Linked DNA regions of Homo sapiens: regions 1, 2, 4, 5, 6 and 7 are each linked to region 3. The links are contacts of gene promoters, found by promoter capture Hi-C in blood cells and fetal thymus (Javierre and others, 2016). All regions are on one chromosome and are shown on one strand. The core of a region is centred on a gene start or on the middle of the fragment in contact, and the rest is flanking DNA. Distances in the headings are between cores, read along the strand shown.

The links. The method cuts DNA at HindIII sites, captures the fragments that hold promoters and counts their contacts. A CHiCAGO score of 5 or more calls a contact.
Region 1: a fragment that was not itself captured here is called in contact with the fragment with the promoter of TMIGD1 in region 3 in 11 of 17 cell types (naive CD4 T cells, naive CD8 T cells, total CD4 T cells and 8 more); the score reaches 20.4 in naive CD4 T cells.
Region 2: a fragment that was not itself captured here is called in contact with the fragment with the promoter of TMIGD1 in region 3 in 1 of 17 cell types (M2 macrophages); the score reaches 5.1 in M2 macrophages.
Region 4: a contact is called between a fragment that was not itself captured here and the fragment with the promoter of TMIGD1 in region 3, in 13 of 17 cell types (activated CD4 T cells, naive CD4 T cells, megakaryocytes and 10 more). The highest score is 15.4, in activated CD4 T cells.
Region 5: a fragment that was not itself captured here is called in contact with the fragment with the promoter of TMIGD1 in region 3 in 6 of 17 cell types (M2 macrophages, activated CD4 T cells, total CD8 T cells and 3 more); the score reaches 8.0 in M2 macrophages.
Region 6: a fragment that was not itself captured here is called in contact with the fragment with the promoter of TMIGD1 in region 3 in 7 of 17 cell types (M1 macrophages, M2 macrophages, activated CD4 T cells and 4 more); the score reaches 7.4 in M1 macrophages.
Region 7: a contact is called between a fragment that was not itself captured here and the fragment with the promoter of TMIGD1 in region 3, in 2 of 17 cell types (M1 macrophages and M2 macrophages). The highest score is 5.8, in M1 macrophages.

Annotation. Positions count from the first base shown.
Region 1 is chr17:30,128,317-30,131,968 of GRCh38, reverse strand. All of the region lies in intron 2 of NSRP1 (nuclear speckle splicing regulatory protein 1), which reads right to left. Among named protein-coding and RNA genes, the nearest start is that of MIR3184, 13 kb to the right of the region's middle. The HindIII fragment of the contact is 7,104 bases long and covers 1-3,652 here.
Region 2 is chr17:30,479,111-30,482,566 of GRCh38, reverse strand. GOSR1 (golgi SNAP receptor complex member 1) reads right to left here. Exons shown (of 9, transcript NM_001007025.2): 2 at 1,310-1,424. Among named protein-coding and RNA genes, the nearest start is that of GOSR1, 3.4 kb to the right of the region's middle. The HindIII fragment of the contact is 1,420 bases long and covers 771-2,190 here.
Region 3 is chr17:30,331,928-30,335,857 of GRCh38, reverse strand. It overlaps TMIGD1 (transmembrane and immunoglobulin domain containing 1), which reads left to right and starts at 1,801. Exons shown (of 7, transcript NM_206832.3): 1 at 1,801-1,858; 2 at 3,700-3,806. The coding sequence starts at 3,725. The HindIII fragment of the contact is 5,890 bases long and covers 1,576-3,930 here.
Region 4 is chr17:30,110,583-30,114,337 of GRCh38, reverse strand. No RefSeq gene overlaps it. Among named protein-coding and RNA genes, the nearest start is that of NSRP1, 4.4 kb to the left of the region's middle. The HindIII fragment of the contact is 5,096 bases long and covers 1-3,755 here.
Region 5 is chr17:30,088,761-30,092,360 of GRCh38, reverse strand. It overlaps EFCAB5 (EF-hand calcium binding domain 5), which reads right to left. Exons shown (of 23, transcript NM_198529.4): 20 at 1,687-1,940; 21 at 204-490. Among named protein-coding and RNA genes, the nearest start is that of NSRP1, 26 kb to the left of the region's middle. The HindIII fragment of the contact is 6,877 bases long and covers 1-3,600 here.
Region 6 is chr17:30,145,177-30,148,625 of GRCh38, reverse strand. The region is part of intron 2 of NSRP1 (nuclear speckle splicing regulatory protein 1); the gene reads right to left. Among named protein-coding and RNA genes, the nearest start is that of MIR3184, 30 kb to the right of the region's middle. The HindIII fragment of the contact is 1,241 bases long and covers 1,574-2,814 here.
Region 7 is chr17:30,164,291-30,168,021 of GRCh38, reverse strand. The region is part of intron 2 of NSRP1 (nuclear speckle splicing regulatory protein 1); the gene reads right to left. Among named protein-coding and RNA genes, the nearest start is that of MIR3184, 49 kb to the right of the region's middle. The HindIII fragment of the contact is 5,370 bases long and covers 1-3,731 here.

The DNA.
Region 1 (3,652 bases), core at 670-3,169, 200 kb after region 3:
CCTTGCACTGGTTTCTTTATATAGAATCTACTCATGGTGACGACGTGAGCATTGTTGAAATGACAACAAAGAATTTAGATTATTACATAAACTTAGTTGATAAAACAGCAGCAGGATTTGAGAGGACTGACTCCAATTTTTAAAGTTCTACTGTGGGTAAATGCTATCAAACAGCATCACATGTTACCGAGAAATAATTCATTAAAGGAAGAGTCGATCAATGCAGCAAACTTCATTTTTGTCTTAAGAAATTGCTACGGCCACCCAGCCTTCAGCAAACATCACCTGATCAGTCAGCAGCCATTAACATTGAGACAAAACCCTCCACCAGCAAAAAGATTATTGCTGGCTAAAGGCTCACATGATCATTAGCATTTTTTAGCATAAAGTATTTTAAAATTATGGTATAGGCATTTTTTTAGCTATAATGCTATTACACACTTTAAAAACTACAGCATAGCATAAACATAACTTTTATATACACTAGGAAACAAAAAACTTACATGACTTGCTTTACTGAGATATTTACTTTATTGCAGTGGTCTGGAACCATACCCACAATATCAGTGAGGTATACCTGTGTATCTTTGAACTATCATTTCCATCTCTTCCTCTCTCTCTTCCCTGTCAAACTCTTCAAAATAAGATTACTAATTAAATTTTAAAAGTTACTATTCAGATGAGAGGACAATAAAAGACAGAGAAACTGTAGAGCTAAAGAAAATATATTGAAGACTAAAATAACACCAATAGAGCTAATAAATTAGAAACAGTAAGAAACAGAAAAGCTATAACTGAAACACTGACAAAAGTTTAATCTTAGTAGAGAGAAAAAGACATAGACTGAGTAATTTCCCTAAATACCTGTTTAATTTTCCTTATCCTGCTCTACTTTTTCACAGCTCTGTAATCTTCTAAATTCACATGTAACTTACTTATCTGTTATGTTAATTACTTATCACCCCCCACCACCACCACCTTGAGAATATAAGTGCCATAAAGGCAGTGGCTTTTGTTATGTTTCACTGGCACAGGGCAAGTGATCAATAAATATCTGTTGAATGCATTAATAAATGCATGACGATGATATGAAAGACAAAGATGATCCTCCAAAATGATAACCCAGCACATGGATGACAGTAAATTTCAATGAAATGAAGAAAAAGCTAAATATTTAGAGAAAAAGAAACAGTGTATTCCTGGAAAAAACAATTCAACATTATTTGCAGCAAGACACATTGAGTTAAAAAGGCTATATACTCTCCAGTAGTCCAAGCCAATTAAAAAAAGTCTAGAAGTAGGGATAAAAGAAACTATAGTGTTGTACTTCCTCATAAGAACATTAAGTACCAGAAAAAATCACTAATGTCTGTAAGATTTTGAAATAAATTGTTATTGTAGAAATATTACACCCAATCAAGTAGATATTTAAGTGACAAAAGCAATGGGCAAGCATTATTTAACAATCAAAAACTTAAGAAATAATGCCCCAATGAGCACATGTTGAAAAACTATGAAATTAAGTCAAAGACCTCAGAAATGGAAAACAATGGTTAAAAAGACTAGTGGACGCTGGGCATAGTGGCTCACACTTCTAATCCCAGTACTTTGAGAGGCTGAGGCAGGAGGATCATTTGAAGCCAGGGGCTCCAGAACAGCCTGGGCAACATAGTGAGACTCTGTCTCAACAAAAAAATAAAAAAAAATTAGGCAGGCATGGTAGTGCATGACTGTAGTCTCAGCTACTTGGGAGGCTGAGGTGGGAGAATTGCTTGAGCCCAGGAGGTTGAGGCTACAGTGAGCTGTGACAGAGCCACTGCACTCTAGCCTGGACAACAGTGAGTCCCTGTCTCAAAATGAAATATTTTAAAAAAGAAAAAGAAAAATAAGGAGGACAGAATTTTCTTGCCATCTCCCCACTTCTAATAGAATTGTCTTAGTTCCATCCTTTTCCTTTTCTCTCTTCTTGCTTTTTCACTCTTAGCCAGTATGTTAAGGATGAAATTTTAGCAAATTGCAAAATTACTTTAAATCCCTCACTGTTTGATATACTCGGTACCATAAATTTACTAGTAATTCAGTTTAATAGCATATGAGAAAAGTTCACAAATTCTCAGCCATCATTAAAATAACCTAAATTTCCCAACATTTTCACAATATGCTTTGTCTTATCTATGTACAACTGTCTTTTTATTTGAACTATACTAGACTATATCTACAGAAGTAAGGCATTATCTGATTAAAACTGATGAAAAACCACAACTAAAACATTTTATTGATTTGGATGTACTATAATGTTCAGACAGATTAAAATTTTAACTTTTTCTTACCAATAGTAAGCCAAACAGGCTTCCAGCTAAAATAAGATTAATTTTTCATTAGGAAAACCAAACCTTCAACTTACTTTTTCAAGAAAATTTTTAAAAAGATTAAAGAGGAGAAATATCAAGAAATAGTGAAAGGAATGGAAGTGTATACACTTATGTAATCCTGTAACTTGCTAATGCTTCTTACTTTGGGAATACACAATTATGGTTATCTTTTTTTTTTTAAGCACTCACTTCCTTGTATTCGTCAAAATTATAACAAAATAATAATATGATTTTGAAAAAAAACTCACACTACCATGCTAAAAAGTAATCATTTTCATTTATTATTTTTTACTTATCTGTGCACCTATAGCATTGTACAACCCTAAGTATTCAATTTTGTATCCTTATTTCATCTACCTCATGCTTTTAAAATGTCCCAATATTTTCTCTCCTAGTCTTCTATCAGATAAAATGTGTTATATCTTTTTACATTTTAATATGATTTGGAAACTAAATACACTATGGGAAATCCTTAAAATTCACCATAATTTTTCTTAAAAAATAGTTGAAAATACAGAAAAGTATAAAAAAAAAAATCATGCCAGGCGTGGTGGCTCACACCTGTAATCCCAGCACTTGGGGACACCAAAGCAGGAGGATCACTTGAGGCCTGGAGTTCAAAATGAGCCTGGGCAATATAGCGAGACCCCCATCTCTACAAATTAAAAAAAAAAAAACAAAAAAACCACTCATTGTCTGCCATACAAAGATAACTACCATTAATATGAAATGCTTTATTGTCTTTTTTCCTTTTATCTATAACAAATTTGTATATATTTTTTCACTAAATGTTATTTCATGATGAATGTGATAGCCGTAGTATTGCACACACTTTACTTACTCATGCTTTCACTGTTGAAAGCTGGACTGGTCTTAAATTTTTACGATCATAAAGAGACCCAAGATAAATGCTTTTGAATACCTAAAAATATATTATATCAATTTCTGACAATTCCAAGACAAAATTTTAGAAAAGAAAATATTGGCAAGGTTTCTGTCTCCTGACTGATAATATTGGGTAAACAATAGTCAACTTTTAAAAGATTTATACTAATTTTTGGAATTGCTTTCCAGAAAAGGTCCATCTGCTTCCAAAAATGTGCATTAATTTATAACAAAAATTCGAGTGCAATTTCACAAAGATCTTGCCATTTCATTTTTAAAAAGTATTTGGCTAATATGATGGCAAAAAATGGTAGCTCACTATTGTCCTAAGTTTACATTTCTTATAGTAAAATTGAGTATTTTTAATGTTCATTAGATATTTCTATTTTTTCTAT
Region 2 (3,456 bases), core at 231-2,730, 150 kb before region 3:
TATTAGCTGACAAATATCCTACTCACTTCTAATCTTTGAAAAAGTATGTAAAATAAGTGTGGATTAACAACAACTCTGCTACCAGCAATTTCACCGCTAGGTATATAGAAACATTCTGCGTAAAAATGTTCCCAGCAGCATTTATAGAAAGCTCTTACCTAACATATAATGAACACTCTTATGTCAGCTATCAAAATTATTATTAATTAGCAAAAATTAGAAACAATGGCCATCATCAAATGGTTAAACTGTGATAGTCATAAAATACTACATATGAATTACAAATGAATATACCAGAGTTAAATGAATCCATAGCTGAATCTCAAAAATGTTAAAGAAAAAGTTGTAGAATAACTATATTATATATATACTATATAACATAATAGAATACTATGAATTGCTCAGGAATATAAACATGCAGTAAGAATATATGTGGATTATGGGGTGGGAGAAAGTGGGGTGCCATAAGGGGCTTCAGTGGAATGAGTAATTATCATTTTTTAAAAATGGGAGATAGGGTCATGGGGGTTCATGATATTATTCTTTGTAACTGTCTTAAATATTGCCTAATTAAAAAATTTTTTTTTATTTCTATTTTTTTTAGAGACAGGGTTTCACCATGTTGCCCAGGCTAGTCTTGAACTCCTGGGCTCAAGTGATCCATCCGCCTCAACCTCCTAAAGTCCCGGGATTACACGCGTCATCTACTGTGCCTGGCTACTCCCAATATTTTCTTGAAACAAGTGGATGACTTACAGAGAGCATAAGCTTCAAAGATAAGAATGTATTTTCCATACATTTAATATGGTAATACACTAGTTTCCCAAAAAAGTACCAAAATTAAAGATAGCTTTGATAATTAATAACAAGGATACACAGTGCATTAGATACCCTCTAATACAATAAACACCAGAAAAGCAGTATGTATACCTGGCACCTGGGTAGATCCACAGGTCCATTTAGCAATTGAAAAACACAAGAAATACATGCCACACGGGCAAATCAGCCACCTTTTCCCTACACTGGCTGAATTAGACACTTATATTTTTGATACAAACTTATTCTGAAGTTCTAGCAGGTTTCTTCTGACACTGTAACAATCTTTGCCTAAGGATTCCAAATAAATGCTAGTCTCGAGAATTCAGAAGAATTTTAATAAGTCACTAAAAAATAAAACAATGAATGGCAAAACAAAACACCAAAAATTCACCAATAGACCAACTTACAGAAGTTATATATTTTAGTTTATTTTTTAATGCTTTAAAAACACAGTTAAGGCATAGGAGACAGAATCTGGTAGTACCTATACCTGTCGCGTCTTCCATCTCGGGTACTGCTATGACTGTAACTTGTACATAGTTTGCTGAAGGAAACTAGTTTCAGGTCAAGTTCATTTTCCAGCTGTCGAGCCTGTTTCCTGAGATCTTTAACAAAATTATAACAACAAATAATTAGACATAAAAAGTAGACACAAAAATCACAGCACCATTCTAAAGAAAACAAACTATGAAAATGATCATATACTGATCTTGTTACCCCCATAAAGAAAAGTGTTGGCTGGGCACGGTGGTGCACGCCTGTAATCCCACCACTTTGGGAGGCCAAGGTGGGCGGATCACCTGAGGTCGGGAGTTTGAGACCAGCCTGATCAACATGGAGAAACCCTATCTCTACTAAAAATAGAAAATTAGCCAGGTGTGGTGGCGCACGCCTGTAATCCCAGCTACTCGGAAGGCTGAGGCAGGAGAATCGCTTGAACGCAGGAGGCAGAGGTTGCGGTGAGCCAAGATTGCGCCATCGTACTCCAGCCTGGGTAACAAGAACAAAACTATGTCTCAAAAAAAGGAAAATAAAAGTCTTAAAAGAAGGAAACCAAGGACTTGCCCAGCAAAGCAGATTAGTCACTTATAAACTTCAGAGGGGGCAAGAAGGGAAATAGTAATGGTAGATGCAACTTCGCAGCTTTACTCCAAAGATGGCTAGAAAACAAATGTTGTTCTATCCTTCCTGAAACTATTTGTATAGCAATAACTAAAATTCTGCAATTCAGAGAAAAACAAGAAGATAATACAAATCACAAAGGAACTAAAAATATGGTTTATGACCAGCATTATCAACTTACCAGTTAATGTTATAAGAAAGAAGCCATTATTCTTTTGAAAGGGATTTTGCTTTTTATGTTCCAAAGCTTTATTAGGCTTATGAACTTCTTTTCATAATAGCAAAATGACTTACCTTTTTTTTTCTTTTTTTTTTTGAGATGGAGTCTCGTTCTGTCACCCAGGCTGGAGTGCAGTGGCATGACCTTGGCTCACTGCATACTCCACCTCCTGGGTTCAAGCAACTCTCATGCCTCAACTACCTCCCAAGTAGCTGGGACTACAGGCACACACCACCATGCCTGGCTAATTTTTGTATTTTTAGTAAAGACGGGGTTTCACCATGTTGGCCAGGGTGGTCTTTAACTCCTGACCTCAAGTGATCCACCCACCTTGGCCTCCCAAAGTGCTAGGATTACAGGTGTGAGCCACCACGCCCGGACCAAAATGACTTCTCAATTGAACATAAAGAAAAAAAGTTACCACAAAAATTGCCTTTTTCTTTCTTTTTTTCTTTTCTGTTTTTTCTCACAATGTTGCCCAGGCTGCTCTCGAACTCCTAAACTCCAGTGACCCTCCTGCCTGGGCCTCCAAAAGTGCTAGAATTACAGGCATGAGACATCGCACCTGGCCAAAAACCGCCTTTAAAAAACTTACTGAGGCCAGGCGCAGTGGCTCACGCCTGTAATCCCAGCACTTTGGGAGGCCGAGGCAGGCGGATCATGAGGTCAGGAGATCAAGACCATCCTAGCTAACACGGTGAAACCCTGTCTCTATTAAAAATACAAAAAATTAGCCAGGCGTGGTGGTGGGCGCCTGTAGTCCCAGCTACTCAGGAGGCTGAGGCAGGAGAATGGCGTGAACCTGGAAGGCACTGGAAGGCAGAGTTTGCAGTGAGTGGAGATTGAGCCACTGCACTCCAGCCTGGGCGACAGTGCGAGACTCCATCTAAAAAAAAGAAAAAAACTTACTGAAAGTAATTTGGAGGGCTAAAACTAACAATAAACAATGTGCTACTAACAAGGTCGAATATGAGTATGATAGAAATAAGTACATAAGTTTTAATAGCAGAAGCAAACAGGCAAGTAGAGAAATTGGTTTAGCAGTCTGGCATCTAAGGGTTGCGTGACAGAAGCCACAGTCTGGACACCCACACACAGATACGAGTATTCTCATTCATGGTGAAGTGAAGGTTAAAATAAAAGGGCAGAAGTACCAGAGGTAATGGTATAAGAATCTCTCTTTCAAAAAGAATACAAAACATTATTTCAATATGCTTTTCAACCAGAAATAGAAAGCGTAGTTAACATAGTGGAGCATATTTGCCCAGAGACCAAATGCCAGTTCGAATCTCGGC
Region 3 (3,930 bases), core at 552-3,051:
ACAGAATACAACTTGTCCAAAGCTCCAGGGATATAGTTGCTCACGGTAGTAATCTTTAACACATTCTTTACTAGTTTCCTCCCTTCCCTATCTTACTTCCTTACTATGCTTCCTGAGATCACTTTTTTTTTTTTTTTTTTTTGAGGAAGGGTCTCACTCTCTCGCCCAGATTGGAATGCAGTGGTCCAATCTTGGCTCAACACAACCTCCACCTCCCAGCCTCAAGGGATTCTTCCACCTCAGCCTCCCAAGTAGCTGGGATTACAGGCGCCCGCCACCATGCCTGGCTAATTTTTCTATTTTTAGTAGAGACGGGGTTTCATCACATTGGCCAGGCTGGTCTCGAACTCCTGACCTCAAATGATCCACCCTCCTCGGCCTCCCAAAGTGCTGGGATTAAGGGAGTGAGCCACTCACCGTGCCCGGCCGAGATCACCTTTAAATAAACTATTGGCACTCAAAGCTCTGTCTCAGGGTCTATTTTGGAGGCACCAAGAACCAAAACATCACTCCATTGCTAAATTCATTTTAAAATGACAATCTTGGATCCCTGGAGAGGCAAACTCAAAACCTGTTTGGGTGGTGCTTGCAACCCAGCCAACAGGAGCTGCTCTTAGCTCTGATTTTTGCTTGAACAATGCTATAGTGAGGTTGTGTTGATTTAGGATGCCCTGCTCAGCCTATATTAATAATAATAGTAATAAGAGCTACTGTTTACCAAGAGCTTACTGTGCGGCAGATTCACATGCTTCATTTCATTTAATCCTCACAGTGACTCCGTAGGGAGGGTACTATTACTATTTCCATTGTATTGATGAAGATCCTGAGGCTCATGGAGGTTAAATAACTTTTCAAAGTTACATAGCTAGTAAGAGGCAGATTGCTGGTGTGCTTCAGCAGTGTGTTAAAATGTGTAGATAACTATAAATATTCTTCTGTTATATTTTTGTGTAAATGGGAACAATAGTACTTGGCAGATAAAATTTGCATCGTTAACAATACCATAAACATAGTGTAATGCAAGGATCTCCCAATCAGGTGAGAGCCTCAAGAGGATAAAACTGTTCCCTAGGCCAAGGTGGGCAGATTGCTTAAGGCCGGGAGTTAGAGACCAGCCTAGGAAACATGGCGAAATTTCATCTCTACCAAAAATATATATATTAACAAAGTTTAGCTGGGCATGGTGACTCACGCCAGTAGTCCTAGCTCCTTGGGAGGCTGGGAGCAGAGGTTCAGTCAGCCACAATTGTGCCATTGCATTCCAATCTGGGTGACAGAGTGAAACCCTGCCTCAAAAAACAAAACAAACAACAACAACAAAAAAACGGCTCCCTGCCATGCCTGGCTTGGTACAGCTTATGCACTGGGCTTGGGTTACTAGTGGTAACTAAGACTTTTCCAGCATTATTTAAGTTGTGTAGAATCTTCCAATGTTTTGACCTCTGTTAAAGTCAAACTTCTCTTTGGACTCGTCCCTTCACAATCCCCAGGCTAGATGATCAAAACGCAGCCATCTTACTTAAATATGACAATATTCAGTGAGATGCGCTACAGATTTTTGCACAAGTTCAAGCTTTCTTGGAACAACACATCCCTGTTAGTAATATCCGGCCCCACCTAGTAACCGAGGTAGACATAGAAACTTAGATCTTAAGAAGATGTCTTTCCCAATTACTATCTTCTCTAAGACTCCATAAAGAAAAACAGACTTTGAACCCAAGTTATCTTATTTATTTGACCCTGCTGTCATAAAGCGTTCAAATTCAAGTATTATAAAGGATTGTAACAGGGAAAGCATTTAGGGTTTTCAGGCAGAGGAACAGTTGGCCAAGGAAGTCAGCTTCTCAGAGCTCAAGAGGTAAGTGGTAAGACTGTCTTATATAGAAAGTAGAGAGTCATACAGATTAAAAACAAGCCAAGTGAGGGGAATACATTTTGAAAAGTTGCTGTCTCGGTGGAGTGGAGGGAAAGAGAAGACATAGATTTGTCCCCTTAATAGGGCTGGGTGAGGTCTGGCAAGAAGCCTGCACTCTCAGTTTTTATTGAGTACTTGTAGTGCAGAGCGCTTGAGAAAACTCTACTATTGACCACATTCTGCAGTAATCACTGTTACAACACTGTGATAGAAATCTTTTTGGCAAATATTTAAAATTACAAAAGAATCAATATTAGTAGTAATTGCATCTTACGAAAAGATTGATGCAGGCTTGTCTGCCAGAAAGGGTGAGCCTGGCATGAATGAAACTTACTCCTGTCAGGGCACGCCTGGGACAGGGGAGGAGTAGAGTAGGTATAGGTATATTTCAGCTCTTGTAAATTAATACTGGTGTTAAGGGGAGAGAACTCCCAGTGGCCAGGGACTGGAAAAGATTAACAGCAGCTTTTTTTTATTTTTTTATTTTTTATTTTTATTTTTTGAGACCGAGCCTCACTCTGTCGCCCAGGCTGGAGTGCAGTGGCATAATCTTGGCTCACTGCAACCTCCACCTCCCAGGTTCAAGCAATTCTCCTGCCTCAGCCTCCCGAGTAGCTGGGATTACAGGCGCTCGCCACCATGCCTGGCTAATTTTTTTTTTTTTTTTTTGCATTTTTAGTAGAGATGGGGTTTCACTATGTTGGTCAGGCTAGTCTCAAACTCCTGACCTCAGGTAATCCACCTGCCTCAGCTCCTAAAGTGCTGGGATTACAGGCATGAGCCACTGCACCCAGCCTAACAGCAGCTTCTTAAAGGAAAAGAATATTAATCTAGGCAGTAGATTGGGTAGTAGGGTGGTTGAGAGTAGGGTGGTTAAGAGCATGGTCTTGGGAGTCTGGGTTCAAATCCCGACCTTGACATTTACTGTCTGTGGGATCTCAGGCAAATTACATAGTCTCTTTAAATCTATAGAAACGACCTCAGGAGGGTTGTTAGGAGGCTTAATTGTGACTGAAATGATGTATGTAAAGTGTTTAGCACAGTCCCTGTTGCGCAGAAAGTTTTCCGTATGTGGTTCGCTATATTTATAGTAGTACTCTTGAAAGGAAGTAATGAATATATGTTTTTTTCCCAGATGGAAATGGAGAATATCTTAGGGAGAGGGAGAGTTGAAGCAAAAGCAAGAAGGGAGAAAGGACACCTTTATTATTTATTATTTTTAGTCCATTGGGTCAAGGGGAAGAGAGAGAGAGAATAGTGGGAGAAAGACAAGATTAACATGGTTTAAACTAGAGGCCATGTTTCAATTGAGGCTTTTCTACGTACACACCATTTGAATCTATGGGATTTGGAGTAGTCTCAAAAACTCTCTATTATCAGAGAACATCTTTACAAAAATGACCCAAGAAAAACTTTCAGAACAAGAATTACTTTGTTCAGTAGGGACTGTCTGAGAATGAGACAAGTTTCATTCTGCTAAAATGAAATTCTATCAGTTTCTCTAGGGAAGACTGGTTTCATCTTCCCCAGGGCACCCTGACGCTGCTCTATCTGTCATAGCCTATTTCCTGTGGTTTTATGTTGCTTTTAAAAAAAATTTCTTACTACTAAATGTACTTTGAACTTAGTCAGACAGGGTTGTTTAATTAAAAGCTAGAAGTAGTACCGTTATAGCTGGGATGATTCATCTGGGACTTCACTTTAAATGCATAATAGACAGAAGGAAGGTTCACGAACTCATTGCAGACCAAAGTACAAAACCAACTGCACTATTTTTCCCTTAGTAGATCTGAGTTTAACTCATTAAAGATGGCATGGAAGAGCAGTGTCATAATGCAAATGGGAAGATTTCTTCTCTTAGTAATTTTATTTCTGCCACGTGAGATGACAAGTAAGTTAAAGTTCTTTTTGGCCTCTTTTTAGATAAAGAAAAATTTCCGATTAAGAAAAGTGATCAATGGGCATTGGATATATCCTTAAATTCCAAATTGGAATGACTACACAGTTAGCATGGC
Region 4 (3,755 bases), core at 812-3,311, 220 kb after region 3:
TCCTAAATAGCTGGGATTACAGGCGCCCGCCACAACACCCAGCTAATTTTTGTATTTTTAGTAGAGACAGGGTTTCTCCATGTTGGCCAGGGTGGTCTCAAACGCCTGACCTCAGGTGATCCACCCGCCTCAGCCTCCCAAAGTGCTGGGATCACAGGTGTGAGCCACTGCACCTGGCCAATTTTAGATTATTTTTAATACCCAACAAAGAAACCATATACCTATTAGTCACTCCTATTTTCCTCCAAATCCCCCAGTCCTAGGTAAATATTTTATGTCTATAGACTTGAAGTTCTATCAGTTTTAGCTTCATGTATTTTGAAGCTCTGTTATTAGGTTTAAGATTGTAATGTCTTCTTAATTGACTTTTCATTATCAAATAACCTTTATCATTATAATATTCTTTGCTCTGAAATCTACTTGTGTGATATTATAGCACTCCAGTTTTCTTTTGACATTAACTCTAGGGAAAGCAAAAGGATGTACAGGAATGGAAAATAATTGTAATTTACAACATGGCTAAGCTGTAAATAGCATACATAATCATGATAATATAAACACTGAATATTGATCTATTCTGATTACATTACCATGTAATAATATTGGGAAGAATGGATGGGAAGCGTGTGTGTATATATGCTGAGGAAGGAGCTAAATCTTTGTATTGTATACTGGGAGATTAATAGATATTGCCTAAATCGGAAAAACAAAAGTAGCCACACAAGCATGTAATTTAACAATATAGAGGTAAATGTCAAAACCACAGCTAAAATAGGGGTTGGCAAACTTTTTCTGCAGTCAGATAGCAAATAGTTTAGTCCATGTGACCCATATGGTTTTTGTGGCCACTACTCAACTCTGCCCTGGTAATGTGAAAGCAGCCACAGACATGGGCATAGCTATTCCAATAAAACTTTATTTACCATACCAGGCAGCTGGCCAGATTTGGCCAATGGGCTGTTTACCAACTCCTGAGCAAAAAGAATTGAAAGTAGCTGACTCAGAAGCAAGGAAAATAAAGGTAAGGTGGGGCTGGGAAATGCTGTGGTCTCAACAGACCTTGTATAACAGAATGACTTTTTATGAGTATGTGTTACTTTGCTTAAAATAAAGAGTAAAAAATAAAGCCCCCTGCCAGGGCTGCCTGCCTCTTGCTTGAATAGACTGAATGGGGAATTAGTTACCCATAATTACCCAGGGGAGAACTCAATATCCTACATAATTTGAGTTTTTCAATTGTTATATTCTGTATTCTTCCATTGCCTTTGGGACATTTTAATGAAGCAGTCATGGGATTTTCCCTAGGCTAGAAGGGACAGTTTCTCAGATGCAGTGTTGTAGAGTCTGCAGCAGTGGTGGTAACTGCAGCAGTGAGTAAGGGCACAGAGAAGCCTCTTAACATTTTAGAACCCAACTTTTGAAACTTTAACAAGAAATGCTGTAAGGACAAGCTGGGTAAACCAGTAAAAGATAGTATCATCACTACCATCCTCATGGATGTTATACAACAGAAATTTCCAATCATCTTAAACTTCCAGAACAGAACAGTTGACTAAATTGGATCCATTACCGAAACCCTTGGATCTTCCACTTAATCTTTTGACACTAGTGTTACTAATGTTAACTTCACTACTTTCAGTTTCTTCTCTTTGCACCCAATCTTTTCCCCAACCAACTACTCACACCTTTTCTCTACCTATAGTTTCTGCTAACTTGTAGCATCTTGAAGGCAGTATGCACCAACTTCCTTCAAGGCCTGTCATGACACCTTTGGCCTCTCTAAGCACTTAATTTCCTTTTATTTTTTAAATTTTTATTATTTTTTATTTATTTATTTACTTATTTATTTTTGGAGATGGAGTATCATTCTGTTGCCCAGACCGGAGTGCAGTGGTGTGATCTCAGCTCACTGCAACCTCTACCTCCCAGGTTCAAGCAATTCTTCTGCCTCAGCCTCCCGAGTAGCTGGGATTACAGGCATGCACCACCACGCCCGGCTACTTTTGTATATTTAGTAGAGACAGGGTTTCACCATATTGGCCAGGCTGGTCTCAAACTCCTGACCTGGTGATCCACCCGCCTCGGCCTCCCAAATTGCTGGCATTACAGGTGTGAGCCACCGCACCCGGCCTTAATTTCCTTTTAGACACTGCTCCCATTGCTGTTTCCCAGTTTGGCTTGTCCATGGTTTGGGTGCTTTTTATATTAGGCCATTTCACAAATTGGTCTCACTTTGGTAAGGGGTCACCCCTAATTCAAACAACTGTAGCTACAGAGTCAGTCACGTAATGGCCACCCAGGGTTGCCTCATCACTTGAAGTCCCTGGGCAGGACAGTCTAAGCTCAGACAGTAGATGGAGGAGAGGTTAAATACGGTTAATGACTAGGAAATGGTACACCTACTGAGGGTAGTAACCAAGTTTAAGGGCAGAGAAATTAGGCAATATTTATTTATTTATAAATTTAACAAATTTGACCAAGAAAAAGATTATGGAACTGGACAGCATTCTAGACCAAAGATGGTTCACAATGGCCCTTCTTGCAAAGTGGTGAGCTATATTTATAACCAGAAAACAGGTGAAATAGGTAATATTTAATTCACTGATCTTGTCAGTTGAGAGAGGTTTTTTAATTAAAATTTTTATTTTTGCTTTAAAAAATTTGTTTAACTTTTAGGTTCGGGGTACATGTGCAAGTTTGTTATATAGGTAAACTTGTGTCATGGGGGTTCACTGTACAGATTATTTCATCACCCAGGTATGAAGTCTAGTATCCAATAGTTACTTTTTCTGATCCTGAGAGAGGTCTTTGTAACAAGATTCTGTGGAAGGAGAGTAAGAATATGGCATTGATGATGTGGGGTGAGGTTTTTGGGACTGGCATTGCATAAAACCTCATATATGAGAGGAATGCACAATTCTTTTTTTTTTTTTTTTTTTTCAAGACGGAGTTTCGCTCTTGTTGCCCAGGCTGGAGTGCAATGGCGCGATCTCAGCTCACCGCAACCTCCACCTCCCGGGTTCAAGTGATTCTCCTGCCTCAGCCTCCCGAGTAGCTGGTATTACAGGCATGTGCCACCATGCCCGGCTAATTTTGTATTTTTAGCAGAGACGGGTTTTCTCCATGTTGGTCAGGCTGGTCTCCAACTCCTGACCTCGGTTGATCCGCCCGCCTCAGCCTCCCAAAGTGCTGGGATTACAGGCATGAGCCACTGTGCCTGGCCTGCACAATTCTTAAATTACCTTCAAATGGTCTTCTGAGTTAGAAGATTGAGAATGTCTAGAAGTTCAGGGCATCTGGTCGCTTAAGCATATTTAGATTAAGAGGGAATTGGCTGGGTGCACTGGCTCACGCCTGTAATCTCAGCACTTTGGGAGGCTGAGGGGGCCAATCACTTGAGGCCAGGAGTTCAAGACCAGCCTGGCCAACATGGTGAAACTTGTCTCTACTAAAAATACAAAAATTAGCCAGGTGTGATGGTGTGTGCCTGTCATCCCAGCTACTTGGGAGGCTGAGGTACAAGAATCACTTGAACCCGGGAGGTAGAGGTTGCAGTGAGCCAACATTGCACCACTGCACTCCAGCCTGGGTGACAGAGTGAGGCTCTGTCTCAAAAAAAAAAAAAAAAAAAAAAAGAGGGAATAGGAGGCCAATTACAAAAGACCACATGTTGTATACAAAATGTCCAGATGGGCAAATCGGTAGAGAAAAAAAATTAGCGGTTGCCTAGGGCTGGGGGTAGGGGAAAGTGGGGA
Region 5 (3,600 bases), core at 670-3,169, 240 kb after region 3:
ATGATGAGGAAGGGTACAAAGGAGAGCTTTTGGGATTCCATAAATGCTCTATTTCTTGATCTAGGTCTGGTTACGTGAACGTGTTCCACTCAGTAAAAATTCTTGCATTTGTACCCTTATGATTTATGCAATTATGATTTGTACAGTTAAATTTGTTTAGGCGATTCTTCAATTTAAAAGGTGCTTTTTAAAAAAAAACTTACAAATTTACACTTATCCCAACTTCCAAAGTCACTTGAAAATTCCAACTCTGGATGAAAGAACAAGATAACCGCCTTCAGGATGTCACGCACTAGTTTCACGTTGGCTTCCAACTCCATAGATTTGCTGTCTTGAGGAGAATTTGGCTCTGTTACAAGAGTATGGTCATAGAGCAACAGTGACACAAATTCCATGGAATTGAGTAGTTGGATGCTTTCCTGTAGCTCGAGCAGCATGATTCGGAAGAAGAGAATTCCTGCCCGCTGGACTTCCCTGACATTTTCAATCTCTGGAATAACAAAATGATAGCTCACATTGCTGTTCAGTCTAATGTACATTGCTGTACATTACTTTTTCATAGGATTCTGAACATATTATAGTAAATGTTTTTGTCAAGAAAAAGCAGACCATAGCCTTTGGTTTTAAACAATCTCAGTTTCTTTAGCCATGAAATCAAAAGAAAGCAATGAAATTACTCCCGGTGAAGCTCATAGGAAGAGGCTTTGAGAAAAGGCAAAAACTTGGGTTTTAGAGTTAGACCCTGGTTTGAACACACGCTGTCACCCTTATTAGTCTATTGTCTCTCTGAATATCCTTTTCCTCTTCTGTGAAAATGGGCTTAATCCCTACTTCCTTGGTTAGCTGTGAGAATTAGAGAAGATGATATATGTAAAAGTGCTTAGTTACAGGCGTTACACATAGTGAACACTTAGGAGACATGAAATTTCTCCTTTCTTCTTATCCCACTCTATGACATAGTTACAAATCTTTTGGCTCAATCCCACATAGTGTTACTCTGCTAATTCTATTCACTTCATTCTAGGAAGCCAAAGGTTTCCAGGCCTTCTTCCTCCCTCCCTCTCTCCAGCTGGCATTGCGCTGAGAGTAGCCTAGTGGATGTGGAATCACAAAAACTAAAGTCTAATCCTGGCTCTCCCACCAGCTTGCTATTGGACCTTAGATAATCCACTTTACTTTTGCAGTCTTTAGCATCTTTATCTGTAAAACGAGATGTTCTGATTACTTAATGCTGTATAACATAGTGGGAAGAGCACCCAAATCTAGGTTCAAATCCAGCCCTCACCATTTCTTAACTGTGTGACTGGGGGCAATTTGCTTACTTTCCTCACCTGTAAGTGGGGTATCACTATTCATCTCATAGGGTTATGGCAAGGATTGAATGAAATAATATCTGAAGCACATAATGGGGGTATTTAATACATGCTAGTTCTAGCTTGCCTTTATGAGCCCTTCCAGCTCTAAAACTGTAGGAATCTAACCATGAGAATGTGATTCCAGGCTGTTTCCTTTAATTTGTAGACATTACTCGTCAGCGCAAGACTGCATAAGGGAATTCCTTTTATATGAAAAGATGTGTATGTTGTAACAATTCATTTTAGAAAGTGCATATTTCATTGCACTCCCTGTGATTTCCCCAAAACCTATTAAACCTGTGAATTTAGACTGATGCCACATGAACGATACCTAAGATATATTTTTTCTTTATCTCTCCAGAGAACTCGCCAAGTATTTCATAGCAGGCCACTTGGACCACTTTCATCATTTTCTGTAGATCTTTATATTCTTGACACAACAACATCCTATTTTGGCCGATGTTAAAATCGAGGACTCCCAGAGCCTCTCCTGTTCTCTCACGAAGTGGAACTACTATATGCGTTTCTCCACAGGCAGAAGCCAGAACAACTTCTGAACTGTCAGTACATTTAAAGAGGAAATCTCTGAAATCAAAACCAAATAAGCACAAGGATATTAAACATCTGTCTGTTCACATCATTCCACCAAAACATATTGAATTACTCTCTTGTGCCTACCTCACTTCCACCATGCCAGCCCTTCTTGCTGTTTCATCTGCCTGGAGCATTCTAGCCCTTGATTTCACATGGCTGTCTGTTTGCTCACTCATGTCTCTGCTCAAACATCCCCTCGGCAGAGAAGGCGTCCCTGACCACCCAATCTCAAGCAGCGCCCAAGCCACTCTCCATCATGATACTTTGCTTCGTTGTCTTGGCTTATCTGAAGGTGTTCATTTTTTGTTTACCTATTGTCCATTATGCTTTGGTGGAGTGCCAGCAGAAATGATGAGTGTGTTAGGTCGGGTTCCCTAGAAGCAGAGCCTGAGACAGGGATGCTTATGCAAGTGATTTACTGAGCGAGTGTTCGCTGGAGAAACCTGTGAGGGACTGAATGAAGCAGGACAGGCAAGGGGAAGAAGCTAAGTAAGAATGTAATTTCACATGAAGTCTAGCCTCGGCCTGATCCCAAGGGGAGCTCTGAAAGGTCAATTGTACCAAAGAATCTGTCCCACCTTGAGGCAAAGGGAGGGGTTTTTTGCATCCTAGCACTAGTCAGTCATTGGCTCTAAGCTGCCCTGGGTGTGTGTGGGCAGTTTGGGCTGGGGGAGTGTTTACCCATCTCTTAGGTAACTCCTGGTGAAGAGCTCCAATCGCTCAAGGGCGCTCCTCCAGAGAAAGTTACGGTGTGAGCCAGGCCGTGCCTACAGCAGCTGGTAAAAGGCATTTTGGGGATCTGGGTAGAGCATCTATAGCATCTGCCTCAGTGAGAGACTTGAGATTTTCATGGAAATGTGGTGGCTGCTTCTTTCTCTTGGTGAGGCACAGACACACCTCTTTTTCTTTCTTTTCCCTTTCCCCATCTACATTAATTCTGATATGCCATTTCTTTAAGGTATTTGTAAAAAATTGGTACTTTGCATCCTCGAAAAGCGCATTTATAGTTTCTATATCAATCCTACAGTGACAGGTAAGATGATGTCCTTCTGCTATTCCCACCCCTTTTGCTGCTGCTGAGCCACCACTTTGTGTTGTGTCTCGATGAGTGCCATAGTAATAATGCATCATACTAGGCTTTCCAGGAATAACAATAGAGCCCATTGGTCAACTGACTTCCTCCAAAGACATCTGTTCTAAGTTACACACAAGAATCCAGGGCTATGCATGTTCCCACTCATAGGTGGGAATTGAACAATGAGAACACTTGGACACAGGGTGGGGAACATCACACACCGGGGCCTGTCGTGGGGTGGAGGGAAGGGGGAGGGATAGCATTAGTAGATATACCTAATGTAAATGACAAGTTAACGGGCGCAGCACACCAACATGGCACATGTATACATATGTAACAAACCTGCACGTTATGCACATGTACCCTAGAACTTAAAGTATAATTTAAAAAATACATAAAAAAAAAGAATCCAGGGCTATGAGTCTGGGTATTACAAGGACTTCTGTAAAACTTTTGACCAGCACAAGGAATAACTATGTGGAAAAGAGCTTGAGATTGAACCAACATTCTGGCATGAGGCCAAACTAAAATTTAATTGACATATGTAATTAAATGTTGAGTTAGCCTACTGGTCTG
Region 6 (3,449 bases), core at 945-3,444, 190 kb after region 3:
GCAACTGACAAGATTCAAACTAGCCAATCCTAAACTGTTTCCCTTCCTTTCCCATGAAAAATACAATAAAGACTCTGAACCAGGCTTTTCCTGATCCAAACTGGTTCTTCCCTATGTAGCCCTGAATGAAATGGCATGTCTTCTCCTGTCAGTAAATGTACATAACAATAATCTTCTTTTAAAGGGCATTAGTCTCAATATGTCATTTGTCACCTCCATAAATTAAAATCCTACAGACATTTTTAGACAATAAACAAAGCCTTTCCCACTTATAGACATAGATGTTTGAAAACCCTAAATCAAGTTTTAGTGAATTGAGTTTACTAGCATATTAAAAATAATACATCCTGCTCAAAAGGATTTAAGCCAGAAATTCAAGAATGGTTTAACATTTAAAAATGTATCAATCTAATAAACCATATTAATGAACCACAGGAGAAAAATGACTTAACTAGCTCAATAAATTCAGGAAGGCATTTAGTACCTATTTGTGATTTATAAAAAATTGTCAGGCTAGGCACAGTGACTCACGCCTGTAATCCTAACACTTTGGGAGGCTGAGGCGGGCTGATTACTTGAGGTCAGGAGTTCGCAAGATGAGCCTGGCCAACATGGGGAAACCCCAACTCTACCAAAAATACAAAAAATTAGCTGGGCATGGTAGCACATGCCTGCAATCCCAGCTACTCGGGAGGCTGGGACAGGAGAATTGCTTGAACCCGGGAAGCAGAGGTTGCAGGGAGCTGAGGTTGCGCCATTGCACTCCAGCCAGGGGGACAAGAGCGAAACTCCGTCTCAAAAAAAAAAAAAAAGTTGGTCAGTGATGAATAGAAGAGTTCCTTAACTTAAAAAAGTCTGGCCGGGGCTGGGCGCACTGGCTCACACCTGTAATCCCAGCACTTTAGGAGGCTGAGGCGGGCAGATCACGACATCAGGAGATTGAGACCATCATGGCTAACATGGTGAAACCCCGTCTCTACTAAAAATATAAAAAATTAGCCGGGCGTGGTGGCGGGCGCCTGTAGTCCCAGCTACTCAGGAGGCTGAGGCAGGAGAATGGCGTGAACCTGGGAGGCGGGGCTTGCAGTGAGCCGAGATTGGCCACTGCGCTCCAGCCTGGGCAACAGAGCGAGACTCCATCTCAAACAAAACAAAACAAAACAAACAAAACCAACCAACCAAACAAACAAAAGTCTGGCCGAGTGCAGTGGCTCACACCTGTAATCCCAGCACTTTAGGAGGCCAAGGTGGGCAGATCTCCTGAGGTCAGGAGTTCAAGACCAGCCTAGCCAACATGGTGAAACCCCGTGTCTACTAAAAATACAAAAATTAGCTGGGGCATGGTGGCGGAGGCCTGTAATCCCAGCTACTTGGGAGGCTGAGGCAGCATAATCACTTGAACCCAGGAGGTGGAGGCTGCAGTGAGCCGAGATCGCACCATTGCATTCCATCCTGGGCAATAAGAGCAAAATTCCGTCTCAAAAAAAAAAAAAGAAAAGAAAAGAAAAAGAAAAAGTCTATATACCAAAAGCCAATAACAAAAATCAAACTTAATGGAAAAACTTCAGAAGCTTAGGATATCACTTAGGATAGACAGGTCAGAATGCCCACTAAGGACATTTTTCAACATACTACTGAAAACTTGTCTAATAAAGTAAAACAGGAAAAAGAGGTATAAGGACTAGAAGAGATGAAGCAGATGGTTTAAACAAACTATTACAGTAAATCTGATTAGGCTCAGGTGTGGTGGCTTGCGCCTGTAATCCCAACACCTTGTGAGGCCCAGGTGGGCAGACTGCTTGAGGCCAGCCTGGCCAACAGGGCAAAACTCCATCTCTACTAAAAATACAAAAATTAGCTGGGCATGGTGCTGCACGCCTCTAAATCCCAGCTACTCGGGAGGCAGAGGTGGCAGTGAGCCAAGATTGCGCCACTGTACTCCAGCCTGGGGGACAGAGCAAGACTCTTAAAAATATATATATTCCTGAAAATATGGTACCACTCACAATAGCTACAAAATGTAGGAAGTATCTAGAAATTAAACTGCAGATAAGGCACAGGACATTAATGGGGTAAAAAATTACCTCATAAAGTCTAGGAGGGGTGTGGTGGCTCACACCTGTAATCCCAACACTTTGGGAGGCCAATGTGGGAGGACTACTTGAGCCCAGGAGTTTGAGACCAGCATGGGCAAGATAGCAAGACCCTGTTTCTATTTAAAATTTAAAAAGTCTAAATGAAGGAAGAACTATACCACACTTACATGTAGTTCCTTAAAGACTAATATAACTTATAAATCCAAGGCAGTTCTAATACAAATCTCAGAAGAGTTTTAATTTTGAAGGAATTTCACAAACTTTATCTATATAACAATAAAAGTCCACAAATAGTTTGATCAAGTTTGAAAAAGAAGTGTAGAGTAGGGGGCTCACTCAACTAGATATACTAAGCTACAATAATTTAAAAAACGATATTTTGGCCAAGCACAGTGGCTCACACATGTAATCCCAGCACTTTGAAAGGCCAAGGAAAGAGAACTGCTTGAGGCTAGGAGTTCGAGATCAGCATCAGTAACACGGCAGAACTCCAACTTTACAAAAATACAAAAATTAGCTGGGCATGGTGGCATGCACCTGCAGTCCTAGCTACTCGGAAGACAAAAGTGGGGGAATTGCTTGAGCCCCGTACATCGAGGCTGCAGTGAGCCATGGTCATGCCTCTGCACTCAAGCCTGAGGAACAGTGTGGGTCCTTGTCTAAAACAAAACAAACTATGTTTTGGCACAGCAACATATAAAAATAAAACAGGAAAGCTTAGCAGCAGATTCACGGATATACGGAAATACAACATAATGAAGATGACCCACAAATCAGGAAAAAATGTATCCACTATTTGTGGATGGTACTGTAAAAATTGTCTCCAAAAAAAAAAGTAAATAAATAAACGGCTGATGAGAAAAACAACAGTGGCCACCAATGAAAATGTAAACTGATAAAGCCATTTCAGAAAGTGATTTATCAGTACTTAGTGAAATAATTTTTTTTGAGATGGAGTCTCGCTCTGTTGCCAGGATGGAGTGCAGTGGCGTGATCTCGGCTCGCTGCAACCTCCACCTCCCGGATTCAAGCGATTCTCCTGCCTCAGTCTCCCAAGTAGCTGGGACTACAGGAGCACGCCACCACGTCCAGCTAATTTTTGTATATTTAGTAGAGATGGGGTTTCACCATGTTGGCCAGAATGGTCTCAACCTCTTGACCTCGTGATCCGCCCACCTTGGCCTCCCAAAGTGCTGGGATTAGAGAGGTGTGAGCCACTGCGCCCGGCCTTAGTGCAATAATTTATATACATACCCTATGATCTAGAAATCCCACCCCTGAATATATATCCCCATAAAAACTTTCACAAGGGTTTCTACTGGGACATGTATGAGAATTTTTTAAAATAATATC
Region 7 (3,731 bases), core at 668-3,167, 170 kb after region 3:
ATAATATTGAACGGTGTCCTATGTTGCTATTATTGGAAATTCACCAACTGAGATGATTCCTCTGAAAACGTAAAGCTGAGGTATGATTCCATCTACTAGAGTAACATAAGTATTATTATAACTGTACATGTACTGTTGACCATTAGAGTGGAAAGTCACATAAAATGAAAACACAGAATGTTATTAACATTAAAGGAAAAACGAGTCTATTTAGTATTTGATATTTTAAGTACTGTTTCTACATCTACTCCATAGTATCAATGAAAAACAGATTCCTTCAGATACATTGTAGTCATATCATGAATGGGAAAATATTTTTCTTTTTAACAAATATCTTAAATACATATATTTATGTGTGAGAAAAAAAACTACTACAATTAAAAGCAGATCAGTAAGATCTTATTTTTTTTTTTAAGACAGAGTCTCACTCTGTTGCCCAGACTGGAGTGCAGTGGTGCGATCTCGGCTCACTGCAACCTCCGCCTCCCGGGTTCAAGAGATTCTCCTGCCTCAGCCTCCTGAGTAGCTGGGAATACAGGCGCACACCACCATGCCCAGCTAATTTTTGTATTTTTAGTAGAGACAAGGTTTCATCATGTTGGTCAGGCTGGTCTCGAACTCCTGACCTCATGATCCACCTGCCTTGGCCTCCCAAAGTGCTGGGATTACAGATGTGAGCCACCGTGCCCGGCCAGATCTTATGTTTTTAAAGGTCAAGTCTTTTTACGTTTTTAGTGGTATCCTTAAAATACTAATACAGTATACATACACAACAGAATAGTATTTGGCCATAAAAAGAATGAAATCGTATCATTTACAGCAACATGGAAGGAACTGGAGGTCATTACCTTAAGTAAAATAAGCCACACACAAAAAGATAAATATCGTATGTTCTCACTTCCATGTGGGAGCTAAAATAAAAACTTTGATCACATGGAGGTAGAGTGAAAAGGTAGATAACAGACTGGGAAGGGTAAGTGAGGGAAATGGGGAGGATAAAGAGAAGCTGGTTAAAGGGTACAAACATACAGTAAGATAGAAGGAATATATTCAGTGTTTGACAGAAGAGTAAGGTGACTATCCTTTTTGTTTGTTTGAGATGGAGTCTTGCTCTGCTGCCCAGGTTGGAGTGCAGTGGTGTGATTTCAGCTCACTGAAACCTCTGCCTCCCGGGTTCAAGCGATTCTCCTGCCTCAGCCTCCCGAGTAGCTGGGATTACAAGTGTGCGCCACCATGCGTGGCTAATTTTTTTTGTATTTTTAGTAGAGATGGGGTTCTGCCATGATGGCTAGGCTGGTCTCGAACTCCTGGCCTCAAGTGATCTGCCTACCTCGGCCTCCCAAAGTGCTAGGATTATAGGCATGAGCCACTGCACCTGGCCAGGGTGACTACCCTTAACAAAAACGTATTGTACTTGGGTAACAGACACTAATTGCTGACTGACTTGATCACTAAGCATTGCATTCATATAACAAAATCTCACAGGTATCCCATAAACTTGTATAAAATTTTTTCAAATACTAACACAAATTTTAAGAGAACTTTTAATTTAGTCTGGTTTTCATAAAAAGAAAGGATACTCAAGAAGGTAAATATCACAAAAGCAGATCCTCTTGCCATAAATCAGGGAAGGGTTGATCTTATTGAACTCAGCAAGAGAAAAAATAGATTTCATAAGTGCCCTGTGAATAAAACAAAACTTATATAATAACTGCAAAGATTATTAATCTCTAACTTCAGTGTTCCTATACTGTACAGCATGAGGAGAACTTACAAAATAACGTTCACAAGTGTAGACTCAGAAACAGTCTACAACTGTTCTCTCTCTTGCTAGCTTGTTATTCTAGGTATGTTAATTTCTTCCTGTTTCAGTTTCCTCCTCTATATATTAGTACCTACCTCACAAAGGTTAGCTACCATTTTTGTTATTATCATGTTCCTGTTTAAAAATATATGGCTGAAGAAATGCTTATATTTAAACAAATCAAAACTAAGTTATGAGAACACAGTAGCTGTACTTTTTTTTTTCTTGGATTATTCACCAGAAAAGCATGCAAACAATATTCCTCTTTATAGTATATTTATCAGTGTGCTTAATAAAATGTAAGGTTGGTATTTATTTGAAGTGACATTAATATATTTCCATCCACTGAATTAGAAAAATCTATTCTGCTGAATATTTAAAAGGCTGTATATGTTTTCTTTTGTGTTGATTCTTTAAGGTTTTATATTCAGTATGTCCATAAACAGGAAAATGGAGGATGCATACATTTGAATCCTTAATTAGCCATGGGAGCTATAGCGTAACTAGAAATGGGTTTTCTAGAACTGATAGTGGCTTTAGTAGGAACTAATTCATAAACAAAAATACACTGCCCCCAAAACATGAGTAGACTAGGGAGTATTCTCCTTTGAGGGTATCCTCTGCTGTGCTGCTATAATCAAATGGCAAGATACAAGGACACACCAAATGAACAGACGTTTGTCTCTAATAATTGTCCTGGTTTGGGGTGAGAAGGGGAAGTGCTTGTTTTAAAAAGCGTATTTTTAAACTTCAAAGAAATGTACAGTTAAGTACTGTGTACCCTTTACCTAACCTCTCCCAATGTTAGTAAGTTGCATAGAGTACAATATCAACACCAGGGAACTGACACTGGTACACCCACACTGCTTATTCAGATTTCACCATTTTTACACATACACATCTGTGCATGTATGTGCATAGTCCTATGCCATTTTATAACACAGAGCTTCAAGTAACTATCACCGTAATCAAGATACTTAATTGTACTAGTCACCACAATACTTCTTGCACTACTCCTTTATAAGCCATACTCATCCTTCCTCCTCCATCTCTAATCCCTGGCAACCATTATCTCTGTGTTTGATGAATGTTAAATAAATTGAATTATGCAGTATATCGTTTTGAGATTGGCTCTTTTCTACCAGCATTACTTTCAAGGGTATTTTGTATTTTGCTTAGTATAAATATCGCAAAAACATTTCGTTCTTGCCACAAAATATATTAGCTTACAAGTTATCTAGGGAAAAACAGCTGTTTAAAAAAAGATTAAGGCTGAATGTGACCAAACCACACAATAAAGTCATTGACTCATTTCAAAATTAGTAGGTAGACAATTATTTTAATTCTATGCCTGAGGACCAGTTTGCAGTGTAACACAGGAGAATATTCCTTAAAACTGGCTTCTTTTCTCTTTTTTTTTGAGACAGGGTCTTGCTCTGTTGTCCAGGCTGGAGCGCAGTGACATGAAGACAGCACACTGCAGCCTCGACCTCCCGGGCTCAAGCAATCCTCCTGCCTCAGCATCTGGAGTAGCTGGAACTACAGATGTGTGTCACCACATCCAGCTAATTTTTTTATTTTTTTGTAGAGACAGGGTCTTGCTTTGTTGCCCAGGCTGGTCTCAAACCCCTGGGCTCAAGCAATCCTCCCGCCTTTGCCTCCTAAAGTGCTGGGATTATAGGCATAAGCCACCATGCTCAGCCAATGGTGCCTTCTAATAAAATCGTTAGTTTTAAATTTAGGGAGACAAAATTTACTTCCTATAAGGCACTTTATCTCGAAGGAAAAAAAATCAACTTATAAACAAATAGGTTCAAATGCAAACATTAGAACTGTTCTAAAAGTACAAAAAACACACTAATATTTCAAGATAGGTTCTTTATCAAAATCTCAGGAAAATACCTTTTCAAAAACCTGAAGCAGTAGC